Regions from separate parts of the Homo sapiens genome. Here all the other regions are linked to region 4. The links are contacts of gene promoters, found by promoter capture Hi-C in blood cells and fetal thymus (Javierre and others, 2016). All regions are on one chromosome and are shown on one strand. Each heading gives the region's core, a stretch centred on a gene start or on the middle of the fragment in contact. The rest is flanking DNA. Distances are from core to core; before and after follow the strand shown. Region 1 has its middle 8.8 kb from the start of TYW2. Region 2 overlaps TATDN1 (TatD DNase domain containing 1). Region 3 holds the start of DERL1 (derlin 1). Region 4 holds the start of FAM91A1 (family with sequence similarity 91 member A1). Region 5 has its middle 37 kb from the start of TYW2. Region 6 overlaps NDUFB9 (NADH:ubiquinone oxidoreductase subunit B9). Region 7 has its middle 7.9 kb from the start of TYW2.

Region 1 (3,131 bases), core at 198-2,697, 670 kb before region 4:
TTGGCCTCCCAAAGTGCTAGGATTATGGACGTGAGCCACCGCGCCTGACCCTACTTGGTGGTTTTTCTCGAGGGCTATATTACTGTCAGAGGTGGCTGTAATGGATGTCAAGTGGCAAGTTGAATCTGTATTCCAACATACAGCTACAGCTTTCAATACTACACAGCATGCCATTATCCTACTAACTGAAGAGACTTCTCAAATTAGACAGGTAGCCTTACGAAACTGCATGGCTTTGGACATTTTAACAGCGGCTCAAGGGAGATCTTGTGCTATCATCAAAATGGAATGTTGTTTGTATATTCCATAATATTAACATAATATTACTCAGGCCATGAAGGACTTAGACACCCATATCTCTGCCATTAACACACTGTCAGTTGACCCCATATCAGGGTGGTTCCAGCAATTGTCTGGTTCATGGAAAACCTTTTTGTTCAGATGCTTGGAACAGATTCTGTTTTGTTGCTGTGGAATGTATTGCTGTTGTAATTTTTGTGCAAGAAAACAAGGTAAACCTAGCCAGGCACAGTGGCTCACACCAGTAATCCCAGCACTTTGGGAAGCCGAGGCAAGCGGATCACCTGAGGTCAGGAGTTTTAAGACCAGCCTGGCCAACGTAGTGAAACTCCATCTCTACTAAAAATACAAAATTAGCAGGGCATAGTGGGACACAGCTGTAATCCCAGCTACTCAAGAGGCTGAGGCAGGAGACTCGCTTGAACCTGGGAGGCGGAGGTTGCAGTGAGCCGAGATCATGCCATTGCACTCCAGCCTGTGCAACAAGAGCAAAATGCCGTCAAAAAAAAAAAAAAAAAAAAAAAAAGAAAAGAAAAGAAAACAAGGTAAACCTATTAAATAGCTTCTTTAAATTGAACACTTACTAATTTTCCAGATTTCACCTTTTGTTGAAAGTCACAATAATGATTGGTCCTCACCACGCCAACACTTGCTGAGTGAACTCCTCTCCAATCTAAATACAAGGGATCCCAGTGGTTAGGGAGGAATATCATTGCTCCTGTTCACCTTGAAGACATTTATGAAGATGGACCTCTGTCCCTCTGTACCCCTTAGAATTAAGGATCCCCTTATAAAAGGGAGGAGGAAAATATATCAGAGGTGTCCAAACCAGAGTGACTCCGTCTTGAATAAGGCCAAATGAAGTGAAACCTGCTGGATTCCATTCCCAGGAAGCTAGGCACTCTCCTTCACAGGACCTTTATGGTTGAGAGAATGAGTTAATGATAAGTAAACAAGACCCAGAACTTAACAGAAAGTCTTGAAGTCCTGATATCTCAAGACCAAAAAGTATTCTTAGTCTAAGAATAGGCTTCTTATATTAATAGATAATAGGTTTCTTATACTAATAGGTAATAGTATATCCCTAAATTCCTGCTGAACTCAATAGTTACACAAGAGGATAACATCAGCCTGTCACAAGCTGGTCACAAGCCTTTATAATAAAGCACATAAGTTCATTATTATTCTTAGCTTGCTTTCTTCTTCTTGTTTTTTTTTTTTTTTTTTTTTTTTGAGACAGAGTCTCGCTTTGTTACCCAGGCTGTAGTGCAGTGGCATGATCTCTGTTCACTGCAACCTCTGCCTCCCAGGTTCAAATGATTCTTCTGCCTCAGCCTCCTTAGTAGCTGGGATTATGGGTGCACGCCACCACACCTGGCTAATATTTTATATTTTTGATGGAGACAGGGTTTCACCGTGTTGGCCAGGCTGGCCTTGAACTCCTGACCTCAAGTGATCCAGCCTCCCTGGCCTCCCAAAGTGTTGGGATTACAGGTGTGAGCCACCATGCCTGGCCAGCTCCCTTATTATATAGCATTTTATTTGTGTTCAGAGTCCTACTCTTGCTTTTTTTTTTCTTTTCCTTTTTTTTTTCTTTCAAGACAAGCCTTATCTGTCACCCAGGCAGGAGTGCAGTGGCACAATAATGGCTCACTGCAGCGTTGACATCCCAGACTCATGAGATCCTACTGCCTAGTCTCTCTAGCAGTTGGGACTGCAGGTATGCTACCATGCAGGGCAAATTTTTTTTATTTTTAGTAGAGATGGAGTCTCATTATGTTGTCCAGGCTGGTCTTGAACACCTGGTCTCAAGCAGTTGTCACACCTCATCTTCCAAAGTGCTGGGATTATAGGTGTGAGCTACGGTGCCTGGCCTCCTCTTGTTGTTAGTTCTGAGGATGCCCTACTCTGTAATAGAGTAGTCTTTAATAAACTTGCTTTTTTCACTGTGCTCTGTGACTGGCCCAGAATTCTTTCCTGTCAGAGATCCAAGAACTCACTCTGTGGTCTGGCTCCAGACCCCTTTCCTGTAACAGTTTGAGCAATAAAAGTAGCCCGGGCTGGTACCAAGCACCAAAGTCAGATTTCTCAACAGTCAGGACCACCTCCACTCAGAGTCCCTTCTGTTGGATGCCAATTTGTCAACCAAAATATGTCTGACACAAGTCTCAGTCAATTTAGAAGTTTGTAAAGTTTAGAAGCCAATGTAAGGCACACGCCAGAAGAAGGGAATATAGAAACCACAGAAACAGTCTGCGATCTGTGCCTTTCTCCAAAGATGATTTTGTGGGCTTCAATATCTAAAGGGGAAAAGCAGGCTGGAAAGAGGGAAGGTCCAGTCACATCACAGAATCCACATGTTGCAAGAGACAAGGAACAGGTAGGGGAATAGTCAGTTATGTATTTGTCTCATGCTCAGTAAATCGGCACTTGATAAGATAAGGTGGACAACCAGCAGCTGGAGATATCTGGCCTTTTATCTGTAGCATCTGCTTAGGAACAAAAGAAAAGGCAGCTTCTTGCGTGACTCGGCTTTTGGCTTATTCTTTTTTCCTTTTGGTAGGCTAAATCGAGATCCTGAGGTTTTATTTTCCTTTCATAAATGAACAAATGAATGAATGAATGAATGAAAAAAGAAAGTGCGGAAGGAAAAATAGTTCATGTCCCAAAGCAGTGGTGTAGTTCTAAAAGATGGACACTAGATGGCAGCAGGCACCTGCACCGAGGCAGCTGAGGGTGGTGAGGAATGTCCGGTATTTGGCCTTCAGATGGAGGGATGTCCAGGGCGCCTCAAGGGCCCCACAGGTTTTGTCAGTGCATCTCCATTAAAT
Region 2 (3,496 bases), core at 158-2,657, 760 kb before region 4:
CATGCTACTGAATGTATGAATCCTTCAGTTTTCTCCCCTAATGAGAAGTAGCAATTTTCCACTTTGCCTTGTTTTTGTTCCTATCATTCCCTCCCACCCGTATCTCTTACTTTCTTAGCTTTTCAAGCTACTTACTATCTTTAGCTGGATCTGGCTAGACATTGGTTTTCATACAGTATTTGTCTAGTTTGTTTGAGTTTACATGCCAATAGGCTTATGTCTAATAGAGACTTTTAATTTAAAAGATACTATTGTCAACCTCAAATAACCAAAAAGGTCAGAATCTAGTTTACAGAGTTTATTCAAGCACAACAGTTGAGGACTGCAGCCCAGGACACACTTCCAAGTTGCCTTGGGGAGTGCTCCAGAGAACAAAAGAGAGGCTCAAATTTTTAAAGGACAAATCAAAAGGTGGGGCGCGGTTACAAAAATGGTTAATCAGGGATTCTCATTGGTTTACAGAAATAACATTGGTTAGTGATTGGCTATGTATTGTTGAACTATAGGGTGTATGGCATTTTAGGGCCACTTGGCGTCAGTCTAGAGCCCACATAGCAAGCGGCTTCAAGAAGTAATTATGTAGCTCAAAGGGGAGTGAGCTTGGACTGCTGTGAACATTTTAAATGCCTTTCTGGGCCTGATCATTTAAAGGTGCTTGCATTTCTCAGATCCAAGGTTTTTGTTTCTCACTATCCCTTAACATAGATAAGAACATTTTGAACAAATTAAATAAATAGGATTTTGAGTGGCTTTGTTTTCATGATTACATCATGAGTCTTAATGTTCAAAACATATTGACTCACATTTGGCTATTTGATAATGCATTCTTGGATCGGGAGCCTTAACCACTTAAGGTGGTATGACAGTATGGCTAAAGCTGATTCAAATTCCATTTGTTGTTGGCATGTTACAGTGTTTGTAATAACAGTGTTCCCAATAATTACATGCTAATAAGACTTTTAATTTGCAAAATGCTTTCATATTTGTTTTTGGTTTTGAGCCACATTTTGTTGCTGGAAGGAGAAAGTTTATGTCCACCCTACTAGTGAGAAAACTGAGGCTCAGAAAGACTCACTTATTTGTTGCGGGTGAGCTGTGACTATCTGGGCCAGCAGTGCGAGGGTACAAGAATTTACTAAGACTGGCTGGGCGTGGTGCCTCATGCCTGTAATCCCAGCATTTTGGGAGGCCAAGGTGGGTGGAGCTCCTGAGGTCAGGAGTTCGAGACCAGCCTGTCCAACATGGCAAAACCCTGTCTCTACTAAAAATACAAAAAATTAGCTGGGTGTGGTGGTGGGCGCCTATAATCCCAGCTACTTGGGAGGCTGAGACAGGAGAATTGCTTGAACCCGGGAGGTGGAGGTTGCAGTGAGCTGAGATTGTGCCACTGCACTGTAGCCTGGGCGATAGGGTGAGACTCTGTCTTAAAAAGAAAAATAAAAAAAAGATTAGGATGATGCTAAAGTGTGGAAGGATGGTGGGTGGTCAGCTGTGATTACCACTGTCTACATCTGCATGGCCTTTAAGTGCTTCTCACTGCACTTGGGTCAAGGGACTTTTGAAGGAGTCTTCCTGCATTTCTGTCTGCCCAGATAAACCCAGAGACTATACTGGGACGTAGGACCTGCTTTCCTCATCAGCCAGGACCTATAGACCTTTCTCATCCCTCATTTCCCCCATCCCAGATCTCAAATCCTCAAGCAGAATATCCTGACACTCTGGCCTGCCTTCAGCAAAAATCCATCAAGTTGAGTAAACCCAGAATCTTCCCTCACCTTTGATGTTTCCTCTTAGTAATTTTTCATCTGTTGATCCCCATTCTACTTGGTGGCAATAAATCCTCACTTGTCCTTGTATTCAAAATTGAGCCCAGTCCCTCCCCCTTCTGCAAAACCTTCCCTTCTGTCAGTAGTCTCTCTTGAATAAAGGCTTCCTCAGAGTCTTTGACAAGTGTTATGAATAATTGTTTGCTTAACACTGCACAAAGGGGAAATGGTCTAGAAGAGATACAGACCATTTCTGTTTTCCTAATGATCAGTGATGATCGGTGACCCTAGACTAAACCTCTCTGAAGGATTATTTTAGGCAGAAAGGCCTCTCCCCTCTTCCCTGGGTTTCCTTTCTCAGTCTGCCCCATTTATCTAATTTCCTGTACTTACTTATAAAGAAACTAGATAGTAATTCTTTGGATTGGGCCATTCCACCAAACTTCTATATTGTATGTATAGTATTAGATGATGTTTATATGTTAATAGCCCTTTTAAAGGGTACCACATCCCACCCATCTTTGTTGACATGTTAGTGCCCAAATATCTTTGTAGTTTTCTGCATTTTACTTTTTCCCCTATTGTTTCAAATGCCTGGAATACTCTCTTCACTGTCTCTTAAATTTTCTAAACTCCCATTCACTTTCAAGGTGTGTCTTATTGGTGGAGCAGACACTCCTGGGGACCAACTTGGCAGAAATTAGAATGAGAACATACCAAGAAGCTGAAACTTGGCAGAAATAATGTAGGGAGTCTGTTGGTAATCAGCTGCCTACCACCACCGCAAATTTTGAGATTCTCCTCCTGCTAAAAGCTAAATTATGTGTATTTTCAATAAGGGAGGCATTTTTTTTTCTTGCCTGTGACCAGTCACAGTCTGACTTCATATCTTGTTGTTCCCCATGTTCCCTTATATTCTACAGCAGAACAGAGCTTTCTGTTGCATCCAGTATTTTAAAAACAAGTGTCTGTACCATAACTGAGTCTGGTGTCTTCTGACCTCTCCCTTCCTTACACTGTCTTCCCTCAGTATCGGCAGGAGACTGGTTCCAGAACCTCCTGCAGATACCAAAACCCTTACATAAAATGGCTTGGTGTTTGCCTGTAACCTGTGCATATCCTCATGTATGCTTTAAATCATGTCTAGATTACTTAAAATACCTAATTTGATGTAAATGCTATGTAAATGGTTTTTATACCTTACTGTGCTTTTATTTATATTATTTTTTATTGTTGTGTTGTTATTTTTATTTTCTAATATTTTCAATCGACCTGTGGTTGGCTGAATCTGCAGATCCAGATCCCAGAGATACAGAGGGCCAATTGTTCTTCTCTCCAGCAGCCAGAACAGCCTGTAGCTCTTTACAAGCACTGTGCTCTTTCCCATCTTGAAGGCTTTGCTCCCGCTGCTTCCTCTTTGTGCAGTTACCTCTCTTCCACTGGATAACAGTCACTCATCCTTTAAGATTCAGTTCAATGATGACTTCTTTCTGGAAGCCTCTTCTGAGCCAGCCACCAGACTAGGTTGGGTGTTCCTCTTCTGTGTCCCATAGTACCAGTGTTTACTTCTAATATTTCATAATTGTCTGATAATGGATCTGCCTTACCAGTTCTGCGGTGAGTTTCTTGAAAGCAGGAATTATATCCTATTCATCTTTGTATCCCATGTTTCTAGCACAGTAGTTGACAAGTGGTAGGCACTTGGATATTGTTTGAGTAGATGAGTGTGT
Region 3 (3,092 bases), core at 9-2,508, 730 kb after region 4:
TCGAGTCTATCAAACACTGCTCCAGTTAATTCTTACCAAAAAATCCCCCCATTCCCATAACCCAATAATGACACTTCCGTTTGATGAGAGGCATTGAGGTTCCTCTGGAGTGCAGTCTCCCTTGCTGCAGCAAGTTAATAAATCTAACTTTGTTGACTACAGGTTTGTTCCTGGTGCTCTTTATTGGAAGACTTTAGCAATCTTAAACTGCTGGCCCCAAATCCCAAAACAACGGGAAACTCTACTCAGTATCTTTTCTTTTTTTCTTTTTTTTGAGATGGAGTCTGGCTCTTGTCCCCCAGGCTGGAGTGCAATGGTGCAATCTCGGCTCGCTGTAACCTCCACCTCCCGGGTTCAAGCGATTCTCCTGCCTCAGCCTCCCAAGTAGCTGGGACTACAGGCGCCCTCCACCATGCCCGGCTAATTTTTGTATTTTTAGTAGAGACGGGGTTTCATCATGTTGGCCAGGCTGGTCTCGAACTCCTGACCTCGTGATCCGCCCGCCTCGGCCTCCCAAAGTGCTGGGATTACAGGCGTGAGCCACCGCGCCTGGCCAGTATCTTTTCTTAAAGATTCCTTCTTATACAAGTTGAATTAGACAAGATGGATCATTTTGGCTTTTAGTTCCTCCAACATTCCAACCTAGTTAGAGCGGCTTTTCTCTGTGCATGGAAAATTCTTCCCCCAGATCTCTTGCCTGGCTGGCCCAGTTCATACCTAAGGTAGCCATCTGTCCTCACACTGCCGCACCCCCACCCCGTCACTCCACCTCATCATCTCATTTCATTTTCCTATTTTTCTAATCACTCTCTGAGATTATCTTACTTCATTATCTATTTGTTTATAAATTATCCCAATGAGGATGTTAAGATCAGGAGAGAGGGTACCACGACAGCGCTGACAGCCGCAGCTGCCCAGTGTCTAGAACTGTGCCCAACAAACACTTGTGGAATGAGTAAGCAGACGAGGAACTAGACACTTCGTTTGCCTTCGTCCCCTTTAAATACCCTCCAGGTGGACCCAGCCGCATTAAAACTCTGAGAACTAGGTGAATGGCATTTGGCCTCGCCACTGGCCGGAGCGTTTGCCGTTGATCCAGGCAACCACTGTTTTCCCACCAGTCGTGTAGTCGCTCTACCTGGCTCCGCCCCCCAGGACGCCGAGCCTCGGCCGGGCGGTAAAATCGGCGCTTACCCTTTAAGCGGCGGGACTTCTGGTCACGTCGTCCGCGGTCGCCGGAAGGGGAAGTTTCGCCTCAGAAGGCTGCCTCGCTGGTCCGAATTCGGTGGCGCCACGTCCGCCCGTCTCCGCCTTCTGCATCGCGGCTTCGGCGGCTTCCACCTAGACACCTAACAGTCGCGGAGCCGGCCGCGTCGTGAGGGGGTCGGCACGGGGAGTCGGGCGGTCTTGTGCATCTTGGCTACCTGTGGGTCGAAGATGTCGGACATCGGAGACTGGTTCAGGAGCATCCCGGCGATCACGCGCTATTGGTTCGCCGCCACCGTCGCCGTGCCCTTGGTCGGCAAACTCGGCCTCATCAGCCCGGCCTACCTCTTCCTCTGGCCCGAAGCCTTCCTTTATCGCTTTCAGGTACTTACCGGAGACGGGGGGCGTGGAGACTACAGGCCCCAGGAGGCCCAGCGGCGGCTAAGCGTAGGCTGGCATGTTGCGGGCGCGCGGTGCCTGCTGGGATTTGTAGTGGGTCCGGCGCCGGCGGTTTAGGGCGGGGTCCTTTGGGCCCGGGGAGGCTCTGGGATCTGGAGCGGGGTGCTGGATAGCTGGAGTTGTGGGCTGGCCTGGTGGGGAGGGGTTGACTTCACTGGTATAGTGAGATTGTGCTTCCCGCTCTTCGCACTCAGTGAAGGAAGCAGTGAGATTAGTCGTTGGTAGTTGTCAATCTGTTGGACGCTGGCGATTAGGTCCGCCTGGAGCATTGCCCTCTGACCTCCCTCTGTCACCCACGTGGGTGGCCTGTAGGTGTCAACTTCACCAACTTATAGCTGAGTTCCTTTCACGTTTATGGAGTTTTTTTGTTTTGGTTTTCCTATAGGAGTGATTTAAAGTCAGAGATACAAAGAACGAGTGTATTGTTCTGCATTTCCCTCTAGACCTAATTTAGTGTCCCCCACGTAGTAATAGAATGTACGAAGGAATGGGCAAAGAGTACATTTGTCCAGAAATGGAAGGCCTTGTTATTTTCTTAAGCATGAAGGAAACAGTCCAGAGTAACATTTCTGTCAAGAGAGTGCCAGTTTTCTGAAGGTTATCTGTATTCACCAATTTCTGATTTAAAACTTCAATCAGTGGCAGGTCAGATAGCAAGATCTGGCATTAATTTCAGCCCTTTACTTGGCCTATGGATAACATTTTCTTGTCTTTCCCTGTCTTCACTGGGTGTTACTTCTTGGTTTCCTTTGCTGGTTCCTTATCTTCCTGACTTTTAAATGTTAGGATGTGCCTTGGGAATCAGTTATAGGACCTTTTCTATAGACTCTCCCTAGCTTTAGGTGGTCTCATTCATTCAGCCTCAGGGCTTTACATACTTTCTATAAACTGGAGATTCTGAAATATAAATATAAATATCTTCAGTCCAGATCTGTCTCCCTATTTCCAGATTTGTGCATCCAGCAGTTACTTGAAATCACGACTTGGATGACTAAGAGTCATCTTCATCTTAACGTGTCCAAAACTGAATCCCCTTTCCCCCTTTGCCTTAGAAGTGAATAGCAACTCCGTTATTAGAGGAGCTGAAGTTAATTGTCGGAGTCATCTTTTATTTTTCTTGTTTTTCTCACACCCCACAATCTGTCAGCAAATCCTATTGACTCTACTTGAGACATATATCCAGAATACAATCCCTTTTCATTCTCCATTGCAAGCCATTATCACTGCAATCTGGTTCCTTTCCATCTTTTCTCTAGACAGCTAGAGTGATCCTTTTAAAACCTACATCAAGTCCTGTCTTTCCTCTGTCCAGAATCCTACCATGTCTTCTTAATGAGTAAAATCCAAGTCCTTTCAGTGGCCTGCAAGGCCCCTGCTGCTTCTCTGACCTCATCTCCTACTACTCTCCAACTTGTACCTTAGGCTCC
Region 4 (3,489 bases), core at 616-3,115:
TCCCCAAGGGAGGAAGGGAGCAAAGTAAACTAAACTATAACAATCCTCATACTGGCTGGGCACTGTGGCTCACGCCTGTAATCCCAGCACTTTGGAAGGCCGAGACGGGCGGATCATGAGGTCAAGATATCGAGACCAGCCTGGCCAACATGATGAAACCCCGTCTCTACTAAAAATACAAAAATTAGCTGGGCGTGGTGGCGCGCACCTGTAGTACCAGCTACTCGGGAGGCTGAGGCAGGAGAATCGCTTGAACCCAAGAAGCAGAGTTTGCAGTGAGCGGAGATCACACCACTGCACTCCAGCCTGGGCAACAGGAGACTCTGTCTCAAAGAAATGAAAATAAAAATAAAAATAAATAAATAATCCTTATATACCATCACCGCCACCATTCCAAACTTCCCAAAAATGCCACTGCCGAGTGCCAACAGAAAACTGAATTTCACTCTCGACCAAGTATAATGGGAGGAAGCGAAGGTCAATCTATGACCAGAGCAGCAGTGCGTTATCTGTAGCCCATATCACTACTTTCGTAAGACTTAAAACCATCTGCTATGTTACGTATTTATTCATTTATTTGTTTACGTCTTTCTTTAGTAAAATGTAAGCTCCATGAAGGCAGTCTTTGTCTTGTTGACTGTTGCAAATTACCTGCACCTAGAGCAACGCACAGCACCTAGTAGGTGGTCAATAAATATCTATTAAACAATTGAGTAAAACAGACTAAAAAAATCGAGAATTAACTTTCAAAAACCTCATGTCACTCTTGTTGAAACATCTCTGATAAACCCATCTTGTCTGGAGGATAAAGTCCAACAAAACAAAGCACACAAGCACCTTCAAAATCTGGCCCTGACCACTTTTCCAGGCTCATCTGCTACCAGCCCCGCGCACTCAAAAAACTTCAACTCCAAACATGTCAGTCCAAACTCTGGTGATACAGTCACTTGCTACTCATGAGACATGTTCTTTCACTCATCCAAGCTTTGTAAAATGACTTTCCCTCCCCCTGGAAAAATCTTTATTCCCTCTTATTTAACTCTTATTCGTCCTCCAAGGCCCAATTTAAGTGCCTGCCTTAAAAATCCTTCCAACTCTCCCAGGATAATTTCTCCCTCCCTCTGCTCTCACATATACTACAATGCAGGTGTGTATGAGCTGCTATCATCCTGTATCGTATTCATTTGTTTCCCATCCCTTTCCCACCATCCTGAAATTCCGGAGGTCAAGGACCGTGTTTAAAATCTCTATCGCAGGTGCCTGGCTGAATGTATCCTGCGGGCAAAGGCGCCAGTCGAGTCCTGTGGACACCATGCCATCCCATTTAGCGATCGCCCCGTCCTGGCCCTGTGGCCCCACAGCCGTCCCCTCCTCGCCCTGGGCTGAAGGTCCGTCTCCCCAAGACCACGGAGGAGTAAAGGAAGGGAGTCAGCCGGCAGCAGCCCGCTCGGGCCCCGCGAGCGAGGCAAGCAGGTGACCGCTGGGCGGGCCGAATCCGTCAGGGGCCCGGTCCCAGGTTCCGGCCGTACCTGTCTCACGTTGGCCGGCAACTTGTTCCAGGGGTAGTTGTGCCGGATGTGGAACTCCACGTCTATGTTCATGATGCCGCGGCCAGGGCCGGCGGCCGGGGCCGCCACCGCGACCCACACTACGCCTCCCGCCTGCCCGCCCGCAGCCTGTCAGCGGAGCGACGCGGGAGGCCCCGCGCCTCACACTGCAGAAGGCCCAGGCTGCCCCATGGCCTAGGCTCCCGACAGTTCAGCGCCGCCCGGGCCAACCGAGTACAAGAGCAGCAGCGATTGGAGGCTGGATCGCCTGAACAGCTCCAAGTTTCTTCCTAGTTTCGGGCCGCCGGAAATGGCTCTGGGCACACGTCACTTCCGCCCGCTGGCGCGCGGCCGGAGGGGCGGGGCACGGACTGGCCTCTAGCCACGCCCTCTACAGGCTGCGGGGCGGGGCGACGACGAGGTACCGGGAGGTGCCCGGGTGAGCGTTCCCCGCCCGCGCGCTTCGTCTCCCCGTTTCAGTCTCTGAATGAACGGCGATAGTCGCTTGGGTCTGCGTTGCCGTTGCTGATGACCCAGTTTACTCAAATTGTAAAGCCGGAGGCACTGGGGTCGGTTTTCAGAGAAAAGCGACCTGGGAAGCGGGCCGGCAGTGGCTGGCTTTACATTGGAGTGCGGTGCGCTCGCGGGGGTTCTCCACAGGCCAGCCCGGAACCCGGGCCAGTGAGACGGGGCGGGGGGTTGCGGGGACGGGTCCAGGGCCCTGGAGAAAGAAATAATCTCTAAGTCAGGTCTCGCACCGGGTTGAGCGAGAAGCATGGGCAGTGGGAGAGCAAAGGTCTGGTAAGCCCTCTTCCCTTCCGCGGTGTGCTGCACGTCATTGGGCTCCACTTCCCAAGAAGATCCAAATTCTTACAATGCAGGGATTCAGGGAGCTGAAATTTTAAACAGTGGTGCTGACAGGTCGAGGCAGCCTACAGGGCTGACAGAGAGATACCCTTGCCAACTTTGTCATGCAGCCTGTCGGTTTCTGCTTTATTCTGCTCCACACAAATGCCTCCAGAGTCACTTAAAAGCAAAAATCCAGCATGTCTTAATTTCAGATTGAGTGATAAGGTCTTTGGGAATAATTTCTTTCAGAAGTTGTTACGCTGCCTTAGCAAACCCGTGACCATTATTCCTGGCAGCAACCAGAGACAAGTTCAGTGTTATTGCAACTGTTTTTCAGTTTTTAACAATGGTTTTAAATAATGTTTTATTATATACTGGGAGATGTATACTTAGAACTTTTTATAAGATACCTAGCTCACACCTCAACAGCTGGCAAGTCTGATGCTTAGCAGAAACCCCATTATGTCTGATGAAATAAAGGTGACAAGTACACACTGCCCTTGCTTAGATGTTTTGGTCTCCTATTATCCAACTATAATAACCCAAAGATAAGTGCTTTGAACCTTATGTTTACAGATCCTCATCAGCATAGCTAAGGTTAACTGAACTCTAACCGTGAGACATTTATTCAACAAATATTGATTACCTGCCCGCCATGTATTAAGGCCTTGACTTGACAATAGATTATTCCTCACAACCCTGATATTCCTACAACAGTAACCACTTACTATCCCAGTTTGATAGAGGAGGAGACTGAGGCTTGGCAGGGCTTCATGACTTGCTCGCAAGATCACACAGGTAGCACTGACAGAGCCAAACTGGAGCCGAAGGCTATCCTCACTCCAGAGCCATCCTTTCAGTTCCCCAACTCAGGCTCTCACTCACTGAACTCTTCTACCTCCTGTTCCAATTTAGACAATGTTCATTCAAAGTCAACGACATAAACATCCTCTAAAATAATGCTTTACAGTTCTAAGTGTGGAAGAACCCATATTCTTCCAAAGTCTAACTTAGATCTAATGCAATATAAGTAACAATGAAAATTAAAGTCAATTTAGCTTAAAAAAATCCCTGTAAACTATTATTTTAGCTA
Region 5 (3,436 bases), core at 574-3,073, 650 kb before region 4:
AGGTAATGATCCTCACACTATCCCCCTCACCAAGTAATTATGGGGGGCAAATGAAACCCTATCTTTTGGGCTCTTAACTTGAGTCACAGAATGCTTTGGAATGACCCTCTGCAGAGTAATGGATATACAATCTGGACTTTGCCTAAAATTTCAGGGCAGTCACTCTTGAAATCCAGAACTTCTTTCTGTCTGGTGGATAAATCCACTACACATCCCATAGACTCTGCGTCATAAATACCTGATGTACAAGAGATAGACACTTTATAAATCATCAACACTGACTTTGGCAGAGCCTATTACCAATATTATTTCCTGGGAGCCAGAGGAATACAAACCAAAAGTCTCCTGGTCCCTTTTCTGCCACTGGAGTGTGACTCACGGCAACTCCCTATGCTTTCTGTCTCTCTCTTTTCCCCCAATTCAGTCTCACCATCCTGTTTGGGGATTTACATAGTGGTTGTGAACCAAAGATTCACTTTGGAGGGAAACCTGGCCTAGTGATGATCCTTAGGCATCTTGTTATATATTAAAATATATGGGCCTGGTATGGTGGCTCACACCTAGTTCCCAGCACCTAGGGAGCCAACACACGAGGATCGCTTGAGCCCAGGAGGTTGAGGCTGCTGTGAGCCGTGTTCATGCCACTGCACTCCAGCCTGGGCAACAGAGCTAGACCCTGTCTCTTAAAAAAATGAGTCAACAAATTTAAATATTGTAATTATGCTCAAAAGGAAGTAGCAATTTGGTTGCTTTATTTATTTTGGGATCACTTCAAGTTTATGGACTAAGTTAGAAACATAATGCATTGCATATTTACTATGTCATATACTTATAAGTGTATATTGGCCAGGTGTGATGGCTCATGCCTATAATCCAGCACTTTGGGAGGCCAAGGCAGGTGGATCACTTGAGGTCAGGAGTTCGAGACCAGCCTGGGCAACATGGGAAAACCCCGTCTCTACTAAAAATACAAAAATTAGCTGGGCATGGTGGTGCACGCCTGTAGTCCTAGCTACTCGGGAGGCCGAGGCAGGAGAATCGCTTGAACCCGGGAGGTGGAGGTTTCAATGAGCCAAGATTGTGCCACTACATTCCAGCCTGGGTGACAGAGTAAGACCCTGTCTCAAAAAAAAAAAAAAAAAAAAATATATATATATATATATATATATAGAGAGAGAGAGAGAGAGAGAGAGAGAGAGAGAGAGTAATATGTTACATATTACAAATATATTTTTATTACCATTTTCATTTATATAATTACTTATGTAAAAGTTATGCATTTGTATAGAAATACACATATGCATACATTTCTATAGAAAACTATGTTAAGGGAAACCATTGTAAAAAAAAAACCCATTTGCAATTTTCGTATCTTCCTTATAAATCCTTGAAGAGAAGCCACTAAATTTAATACATCTCAGATAACTGTGATTCATAAATGGTAGGGGATGAAAAATATATGGCTGCTGCTCTCAAGGAATTTACAGAAAAGTAGGCATTTCATAAATACTTGGTGATTTATAATGCACTGATCTTTGGAGCCTGGATAACCTGGCTACTTAATATGTCACGCCTCGCTGATATCAAATAGACACCCAAAGGTAATGATTTCAAAGGTTATTCTAATTAACAAGGGACTACTTCAGACTCTGGCAGAATATGGTTCATTAAGTACAATTTAATCATTAAGGCAATAATATTAATTATGCATGCTTTCTGAGAAAACACCTTATCTCTTTATTCTTATTAATAACCATCTCAATTTTATAAATTACATTCAAACTTATGTACTGAAAGTTATGCAAAGGCAAGGGACCATTGTTTTAGATAGAAACAATAAATTATTTACCCAAAGCTATTCAGAAAACACTAGTCAAAACTGAAACTAGGCTTCCAAACACCCTGTCAGTATTTAAATATGTCAAGGTCAAAGTCAGATTAAGCAACTGGTCTTAGATATTTTTAGCAGTAGCTACAATTAAGATTTAATAACAGTACACAGGTCTGGAAAATGTCATAATGTCATACACCAATTATTATCTTGAAATTCATTAAGAACTCCATAATCATAAGAGTTTTGGGAGACAGGCAATGGAAAGAATATCTTGTTAGGTACCTACTATGAGCCTGGTGCTCTATGGTTCATTATGAAAATCATCTCAGTGAATTCTCGTAACAACCTTGTGATGCACATTTTTAATCTTCATTTCATCCACGAGGAAACAGAGGGGAAGAAATTTGCTCTGGTTCATTGTGCTAGTAAATGGAAGAGCTGCACAAGTTTAAATCCATAAAATAAAATGCAGAGAAGTACAAAGACAGTTGTATTTAATAACTGTAAAATGTATTAGAATGTAAATAAATAGTACCTATCTAAGTATTTTCCTGCTTATTGATGAAGGTCAGTATTTTTTTTTTATTATACTTTAAGTTCTAGGGTAGATGTGCACAACATGCAGGTTTGTTAGATATCTATACATGTGCCATGTTGGTGTGCTGCACCCATTAACTCGTCATTCACATTAGGTATATCTCCTAATGCTATCCCTCCCCACTCCCCCCACCCCACAACAGGCCCCAGTGTGTGATGTTCCCCTTTCTGTGTCCAAGTGTTCTCATTGTTCAATTCCCACCTATGAGTGAGAACAGGCGGTGTTTGGTTTTTTGTCCCTGCGATAGTTTGCTGAGAATGATGGTTTCCAGCTTCATCCATGTCCCTACAAAGGACATGAACTCATCCTTTTTTATGGCTGCACAGAATTCCATGGTGTATATGTGCCACATTTTCTTAATCCAGTCTATCATTGATGGACATTCGGGTTGGTTCCAAGTCTTTGCTATTGTGAATAGTGCTGCAGTAAACATACATGTGCATGTGTCTTTATAGTAGCATGACTTATAATCCTTTGGGTATATACCCAGTAATGAGATGGCTGGGTCAAATGGTATTTCTAGTTCTACATCCTTGAGGAATCACCACACTGTCTTCCACAATGGTTGAACTAGTTTACACTCCCACCAACAGTGTAAAAGTGTTCCTATTTCTCCACATCCTCTCCAGCACCTGTTGTTTCCTGACTTTTTAATGATCGCCATTCTAACTGGTGTGAGATGGTATCTCATTGTGGTTTTGATTTGCATTTCTCTGATGGCCCGTGATGATGAGCATTTTTTCATGTGTCTTTTGGCTGCATAAATGTCTTCTTTTGAGAAGTGTCTGTTCATATCCTTCACCCACTTGTTGATGGGGTTGTGTGTTTTTTTCTTGTAAATTTGTTTGAGTTCTTTGTAGATTCTGGATATTAGTCCTTTGTCAGATGAGTAGATTGCAAAAATTTTCTTCCATTCTGTAGGGTGCCTGTTCACTCTGATGGTAGTTTCTTTTGCTGTGCAGAAGCTCTTTAGCTTAATTAGATCCCATTTGTCAATTTTGGCT
Region 6 (3,134 bases), core at 463-2,962, 770 kb before region 4:
GCACATGCTGTTGGAAAAATGGTGCCCACAGACTTGCTCAGCACGGGGTTGCCACAAACTTTCAATCTGTGAAAATACAATATCTGCCAAGCACAATAAAACAAAATGCAATAAAATGAGGTAGGCCTGCATCTGACAACTGTCAGGAAATAAGTCTCCTAGCTACCCCTTGAAGGGCAAGTGATTTCTGAGGCTGAGGTGTGGGACTGAAGAAACAAAGTCTATTTCTCAGAAGGCAGTCATCATAATTCTCACCTACCTTGTAGCAATCGTATCTCTCATAGGAGGTGCCCCCAGGAGAGTCAGGGAAGATGTATGGCTGTGGATGCTGACGGTACCAGAATTCTTCCTCGGCCTCCTTCAGCAGCTGGGTGGCCTTCGCCATATCCTTTTCATTCTTATGTTCTTCAAACCGGGCTCTCATCAAACAAGCAAAGTATCGGTATTTGTCTCTTAAACCAAAATGATTTTGAAGATTAGAAATGTTACCTACTCACGTGGTCAGTGTTGCTGTCTGACAGGAGGCTGCACTTCTGATACCTTCTGGATGGGCAGTGGACCTACCCCAACCCTCCCAATGGAGCAGCCGTATCATCATGGCTGCTTCCTCTACAGCCCACCAAACAGCAGCAGCAAAAAAATACTGTATTAAATATATACCCTAACCATTTTTCTCCTCTTACATCCAACAATGGAATGAGGATTTAAACAAAAAAAAAAAAAAAAAAAAAGAAAAGAGCATTCGCAAGAGAAAAGCTATAACCTCTGCAGGATCATTCAACATTCATTGAATGACAACTTCCATTTCCTTCTATCTTGTGCTAGTCACTATGCTAAATTCTGGAGATACAAAGATGAATAAGAAAGGTGTTACTTGGCAGAAACAGTATTGCTTAGCTCATACAGAGCTAGGTTTGTATCCTGACTCTGACACTAGCTGCATAAACTTAGGCAAGTTAAAGTCAAGTTCTAAAGAAACTGGGCAAAGATCAGTTAGGAGGTTTTGACAATAATCTAGGACACAGCTGACGAGGGCCTGAAAGTACGGAGCTGTGATGGTGACAGGAGACAGGGGAGACATTGAGACTTCCAAGTTATGAGAATAGGCTCTCCAGTCAGACTGTATGGGCCTGAATCTTAGCTCTGCCACTACTAGCTGTGTAACTTGGGGTAAGTTACTGTCTTCTGGTCAGGTGCGGTGGCTCACACCTGTAATCCCAGCACGTTGGGAGGCCAAGGCGTGTGGATCACCTGAGGTCTGGAGTTCAAGACAAGCCTGATCAACATGGAGAAACCCCGTCTCTACTAAAAATACAAAAATGAGGCCGGGCATGGTGGCTCACGCCTGTAATCCCAGCACTTTGGGAGGCCAAGGCAGGGGGATCATCTGAGGTGAGGAGTTCTACACCAGCCTGGCCAACATGGTGAAATCCCGTCTCAGCTAAAAATACAAAAACTAGCCGGGCGTGGTGGCAGGCACCTGTAATCCCAGCTACTCTGGGGGCCAAGGCAGGAGAATAGCTTGAACCCGGGAGGCAGAGGTTGCAGTGAGTCGAGATTGTGCCATTTGCACTCCAGCCTGGGGGACAAGAGCGAGACTTCATCTCAAAAAAAAACAACAACAACAACAACAAAAAGGCCAGGCACGGTGGCTCACGCCTGTAATCCCAGCACTTTGGGAGGCTGAGGTGGAGGTCACCTGAGGTCAGGAGTTCAAGACCAGCCTGGCCAACATGGCAAAACCCCGTCTCTACTAAAAATACAAAAATTAGCCAGGCGTGGTGGCGCATGCCTGTAATCCCAGCTACTCGGGAGACTGAGGCAGGAGAATTGCTTGAACCCGGGAGACGGAACTTGCGGTGAGCCAAGATCGCGCCACTGCACTCCAGCCTGGGCAACATAAGCGAAACTCCGTCTAACAAAAAAACAAACAAAAAAAGTCTTCTAGGCCACGGGTTCCTCCTCTGTAAAACAGTGGCAATAACAGTGTGTATATCTTAAGGTTGTCATAAACAGTCAATAAGATAAACACACTTTAAAAAGTGCCTGGTACATCCCAAGTGTTAAATAATGTCAGTTACTAATATCATACTGGAAAGAGAATTTATAAAAACCAGTGTCTAATTATACATGGTGTATGAGTATGTGTGTTATTGGCAAAGGAATAAGGAGCAAATACTTGAGAACAATTCTGAGACTTAAAGCTCAGTAACTGAATTACTAATAATACCATTAGCGGAGGCAGGGAATTTGGGAAAAGAGTCAGAATGGGGAGTGACAGGAAAACAAGTTTGATTTCAAAGAATTTAGATAAATGGAGATTGAGAGAACGGTTGGTGATCTTTTCAATTTTTTTTTTATTATTATTTTTTGAGACAAAGTTTCACTCTTGTCGCCCAGGCTGGAGTGCAATGGGGCTATCTCGGCTCACTGCAGCCTCTGCCTCCCAGGTTCAAGCGGTTCTTCTGCCTCAGCCTCATGAGTAGCTGGGATTACAGGCACCCACCACCACGCCTGGCTAATTTTTGTATTTTTAGTAGAGACGCGGTTTCACATGTAGGCCAGGCTGTTGAACTCCTGGCCTCAGGTGATCCACTCACCTCAGCCTCCCAAAGTACTGGGATTATAGGCGTGAGCCATCATGCCCAGCCAACAGTCGTGATCTAACAAGCAATTCGAACTACAGCTCTAGAGACAAATGAGCGCAGGTGGTGACAGCACTAAATGAGGCTGCCCGAGTACATACAACAACACAGTATGCCTAGGATGGAACCACAGAGAACAGCACAATGAGGGCAAATGGAGGAAGAAATTAAGGCAAGGATTGAGAAAGAATGTCAGATCTAAAAAATGCTGAGCCATAACTGTCATAGTAGCTAGTTTATATCATTTTCCTCTAGAACTATGGACTTTAGTATTCCCAGCTATAGTTCAGTATTGCTTGAATTCTTTTTTTCATGTTTAACTTTTTTTGACACATAATTATTGTACCTATTTATGGGGTACATGTGATATTTTAATACATCCATATAATGTATAATGATCAAATCAGGGTAATTTGGATATTCATCACCTCAAACATTTACCATTTGTGTTGGGATACCTGAATCCCTGATGGCTCAACTTCCTTCATC
Region 7 (3,259 bases), core at 173-2,672, 690 kb before region 4:
AGTACTCAGAATATCAGGTAGAAATATTTCTTGCCTGTAAGTTAAAAAAAAATTCGCACAGTGACTTAAATAGACTTGGGGGTGGGATTGCAGGTTATTTTATTTTTTTATTTTTTCACATGACAAGTGCAGAGATAGACATTTCAGGGCTGTGTAGCTGATCAAAGATCCCCTTAAGAAATCAGTCCTACAATGCTGCTCTGCCAGTCTTAGCATGCTTGGAGAGATGGCTGCTACATCTCCAGGGTCAGAGACCCAAAGCCCTCCCCGGGGACCTCTGCCTGCAGCTCCTTGCCAGAACTGGTTCACATGGTCACTATCTGTGCAAGAGAGGCTGGGAAATTTAGTACTTGAGTTTTCCAGCTTCTCCTTTTTAAGAGAAAGGGGAATTGGGATGGATACTGTGAGTCAATTCTGGGCCCCAGTGAAAAGGTTCTTGGGAACAACTTGGAGAATCTGGAGAAGGGCCTATAGGAAACACACAATGGTAACTGTAAGATTCAAAAGAAAGTTTCAATGAGACAAATAGCTTATCTTGGAGAAGAGGTTAAGGGGCCCTCACTTCCTCTGCCTTTACATAGTTGATTCTATTCAAAATTCAGCTCTAGGACAGGCACCATGGCTCATGCCTGTGATCCCAGCACTTTGGGAGGCTGAGGTTAGAGGATCACTTGAGCCCTAGAGTTCGAGACCAGCCTGGGCAACATAGTGAGACCCTCTATCTATAAAAAAAATTAAAAATTATGGGTGGGCACAGTGGCTCACACCTGTATTCCCAGCACTTTGGGAGGCTGAGGTGGGTGGATCTCTTGAGGTCAGGAGTTCAAGACCAGCCTGGCCAACATGGTGAAACCCTGTCTCCACTAAAAACAAAAATTGGCTAGGCATGGTGGTGCACACCTGTAATCCCAGCTACTCGGGAGGGTGAGGCAGGAGAATCACTTGAACTTGGGGGGGTGGGTGTGTGGGAGGTTGCTACTCAGGAGGCTGGGGCAGGAGGATTGCAGTTCAGGAGGTCAAAGCTGCAAGTAAGTCTTTTGTTTGTTTGTTTGTTTGTTTGGTGGGGGACAGAGTCTCACTCTGTCACCCAGGCTACAATGCAGTGGTGTGATCTCCGCTTACTGCAACCTCCGCCTCCCGGGTTCAAGCGATTCTCCTGCCTCAGCCTCCTGAGTAGCTGGGATTACAGGTGTTTGCCACCATGTCTCACTAATTTTCGTATGTTTTTTTTTTTTGGGGGACGGAGTCTTGCTCTGTCACCCAGGCTGGAGTGCAGTGGTGTGATACTGGCTCACTGCAATCTCTGCCTCCTGGGTTCAAGCGATTCTCTTGCCGCAGCCTCCCGAGTAGCTGGGACTACAGGTGCCCACCACCACCCCTGGCTAAGTTTTGTATTTTTAGTAGAGATGGGGTTTCACCATCTTGGCCAGGCTGGTCTGGAACTCCTGACCTTATGATCCACCCGCCTCAGCCTCCCAAAGTGCTGGGATTACAGGCATGAGCCACCGCACCTGGCCAATTTTTGTACTTTTATTAGAGACAGGATTTCACCATGTTGGCCAGGCTGGTCTCAAACTGCTGACCTCAGGTGTGATTTGCCCACCTCAGCCTCCCAAAGTTTACAGGCGTGAGCTGGGATTACAGGTGTGAGCCACTGCACCCAGCCTGCAGTGAACCTTGATTGCGCCACTGCATTCCAGCCTGGGCAACAAAGCAAGACCCTAAAAATAATAAAATGCAGCTCTGGTGTTCCTTCCTGTAGGAAGTGTTTCCAAGTTCTTTGCTTTTTTTTTTTTAACAGCTTTATTGAGATATAATTCACATACTATAAAATTCACCCTTTTAGTATATATGTTGCTGAAGCAAGTAGGGAAATTCACCCTTTAAAAATATACAATTAAATGGCTGGTTCATATATTATAGAGTTGTGCAATCATCACCACCATCTATTTTCAGAACATTTTCATCTTCCCACAAAATCAACCCAGTACCTATTAGCAGTCATTCTCCATTCTCCACTCCCCCCAGCACCTGGGAACTTACTTTCTGTTTCTATAGATTTGCCTATTCTGGCCATTTCATATAAATGGGACCATACAATAAATGACCTTTTGCAACTGGATTCTTTCACTCAGCATAATGTTTTCAAGGTTCATCCAGAAACCATGTATCAGTACTGCATTCCTTTTTACAGATTCCATTGTATATATATGACATTTTGTTTAACCACTCATCAGTTGATGGACTTTGGGTTGTTTCCACATTTTGTCTATGAATAATGCTGCTACAAATATTCACGCACAAGCCTTTGTGTGGACATATGTTTGCATTCTCTTGGGTATATATACCTCTATCACATATGTCTTATTTATTTGGTTAATTCACTGCTGGGTAATATGCTAACCCTATGTTCAACACTTTAAGGAACTGCCACAACTGTTTCCCAAGTGAACAGGGTTGGATCTTTATTTTAAACATTTTAAATGCTTGTAATCATTTTAAATAATAGTTGAGTTTGAAAATGACTACTTTTACAGCTTGTGCAATATAAAGTGGCTGTACCCTGAGGCTGTTCAGAGTGATATATATTGGATTTTGTCACATGTATGCCCAGGGTAGGAGAAAATGAAATTTAAATTCTATTTGTTTCTTACTATTTTTAATTTCTGTTCGTGTATGGTTTTTCTGTTTTTGAGACAGAGTCTTGCTCTGTTGCCCAGGCTGGAGTGCAGTGGCACAATCTCGGCTTACTGCAACCTCCACTTCCTGAGTTCAAGAGATTCTCCTGCCTCAGCCTCCCAAGTAGCTGGAATTATAGAAGCCCACCACCACACCTGGCTTATTTTTGTATTTCTAGTAGAGACAGGGTTTTGCCATGTTGGACAGGCTAGTCTCAAACTCCTGACCTCAGGTGATCCACCTGCCACAGCCTCCCAAAGTGCTGGGATCACAGGCATAAGCCACCGCACCTGGCCTATTTGTGTATTTCAAAGGCACATATTGTACTCATATATTACTGCACTCATATAATTTTTTAAATTACAAAGTTAATAAAGCAGCTCAAGTTTGAGGGAGTTTTTAAAAATTACTATTTTTTAAAAATCACAATATCTCTATCAGGTGGCTGCATTGACTGGCAACTAATACTGAAGCTTGCATGGGAAGCCTTTAGAGCTTATACAAATTGCTGGACTGAGATGACAAGGACCCCATGAGCCTCCCGAACCCTTCAGTCTTTTTTCATTGGTTCCATAAGATG

What was found. The method cuts DNA at HindIII sites, captures the fragments that hold promoters and counts their contacts. A CHiCAGO score of 5 or more calls a contact.
Region 1: a contact is called between a fragment that was not itself captured here and the fragment with the promoter of FAM91A1 in region 4, in 15 of 17 cell types (megakaryocytes, M2 macrophages, M0 macrophages and 12 more). The highest score is 23.2, in megakaryocytes.
Region 2: a fragment that was not itself captured here is called in contact with the fragment with the promoter of FAM91A1 in region 4 in 1 of 17 cell types (megakaryocytes); the score reaches 5.2 in megakaryocytes.
Region 3: a contact is called between the fragment with the promoter of DERL1 here and the fragment with the promoter of FAM91A1 in region 4, in 2 of 17 cell types (fetal thymus and monocytes). The highest score is 6.8, in fetal thymus.
Region 5: a fragment that was not itself captured here is called in contact with the fragment with the promoter of FAM91A1 in region 4 in 1 of 17 cell types (erythroblasts); the score reaches 6.2 in erythroblasts.
Region 6: a fragment that was not itself captured here is called in contact with the fragment with the promoter of FAM91A1 in region 4 in 1 of 17 cell types (neutrophils); the score reaches 7.6 in neutrophils.
Region 7: a fragment that was not itself captured here is called in contact with the fragment with the promoter of FAM91A1 in region 4 in 12 of 17 cell types (total B cells, erythroblasts, M1 macrophages and 9 more); the score reaches 10.2 in total B cells.

Annotation. Positions count from the first base shown.
Region 1 is chr8:124,440,438-124,443,568 of GRCh38, reverse strand. No RefSeq gene overlaps it. Among named protein-coding and RNA genes, the nearest start is that of TYW2, 8.8 kb to the left of the region's middle. RefSeq lists an enhancer at 2,740-3,131. The HindIII fragment of the contact is 6,278 bases long and covers 1-3,131 here.
Region 2 is chr8:124,523,094-124,526,589 of GRCh38, reverse strand. The region is part of intron 1 of TATDN1 (TatD DNase domain containing 1); the gene reads left to right. Among named protein-coding and RNA genes, the nearest start is that of TATDN1, 14 kb to the left of the region's middle. The HindIII fragment of the contact is 4,231 bases long and covers 1-3,496 here.
Region 3 is chr8:123,040,468-123,043,559 of GRCh38, reverse strand. DERL1 (derlin 1) reads left to right here and starts at 1,258. Exons shown (of 8, transcript NM_024295.6): 1 at 1,258-1,590. The coding sequence starts at 1,438. RefSeq lists an enhancer at 1,309-1,848. The HindIII fragment of the contact is 6,787 bases long and covers 1-3,092 here.
Region 4 is chr8:123,766,815-123,770,303 of GRCh38, reverse strand. FAM91A1 (family with sequence similarity 91 member A1) reads right to left here and starts at 1,865. Exons shown (of 24, transcript NM_144963.4): 1 at 1,530-1,865. The coding sequence starts at 1,601. RefSeq lists a silencer at 1,530-1,679. The HindIII fragment of the contact is 7,175 bases long and covers 987-3,489 here.
Region 5 is chr8:124,412,264-124,415,699 of GRCh38, reverse strand. No RefSeq gene overlaps it. Among named protein-coding and RNA genes, the nearest start is that of TYW2, 37 kb to the left of the region's middle. The HindIII fragment of the contact is 9,425 bases long and covers 1-3,436 here.
Region 6 is chr8:124,540,405-124,543,538 of GRCh38, reverse strand. It overlaps NDUFB9 (NADH:ubiquinone oxidoreductase subunit B9), which reads right to left. Exons shown (of 4, transcript NM_005005.3): 2 at 260-452. Among named protein-coding and RNA genes, the nearest start is that of NDUFB9, 2.8 kb to the right of the region's middle. The HindIII fragment of the contact is 4,221 bases long and covers 1-3,134 here.
Region 7 is chr8:124,457,126-124,460,384 of GRCh38, reverse strand. No RefSeq gene overlaps it. Among named protein-coding and RNA genes, the nearest start is that of TYW2, 7.9 kb to the right of the region's middle. The HindIII fragment of the contact is 3,465 bases long and covers 1-3,154 here.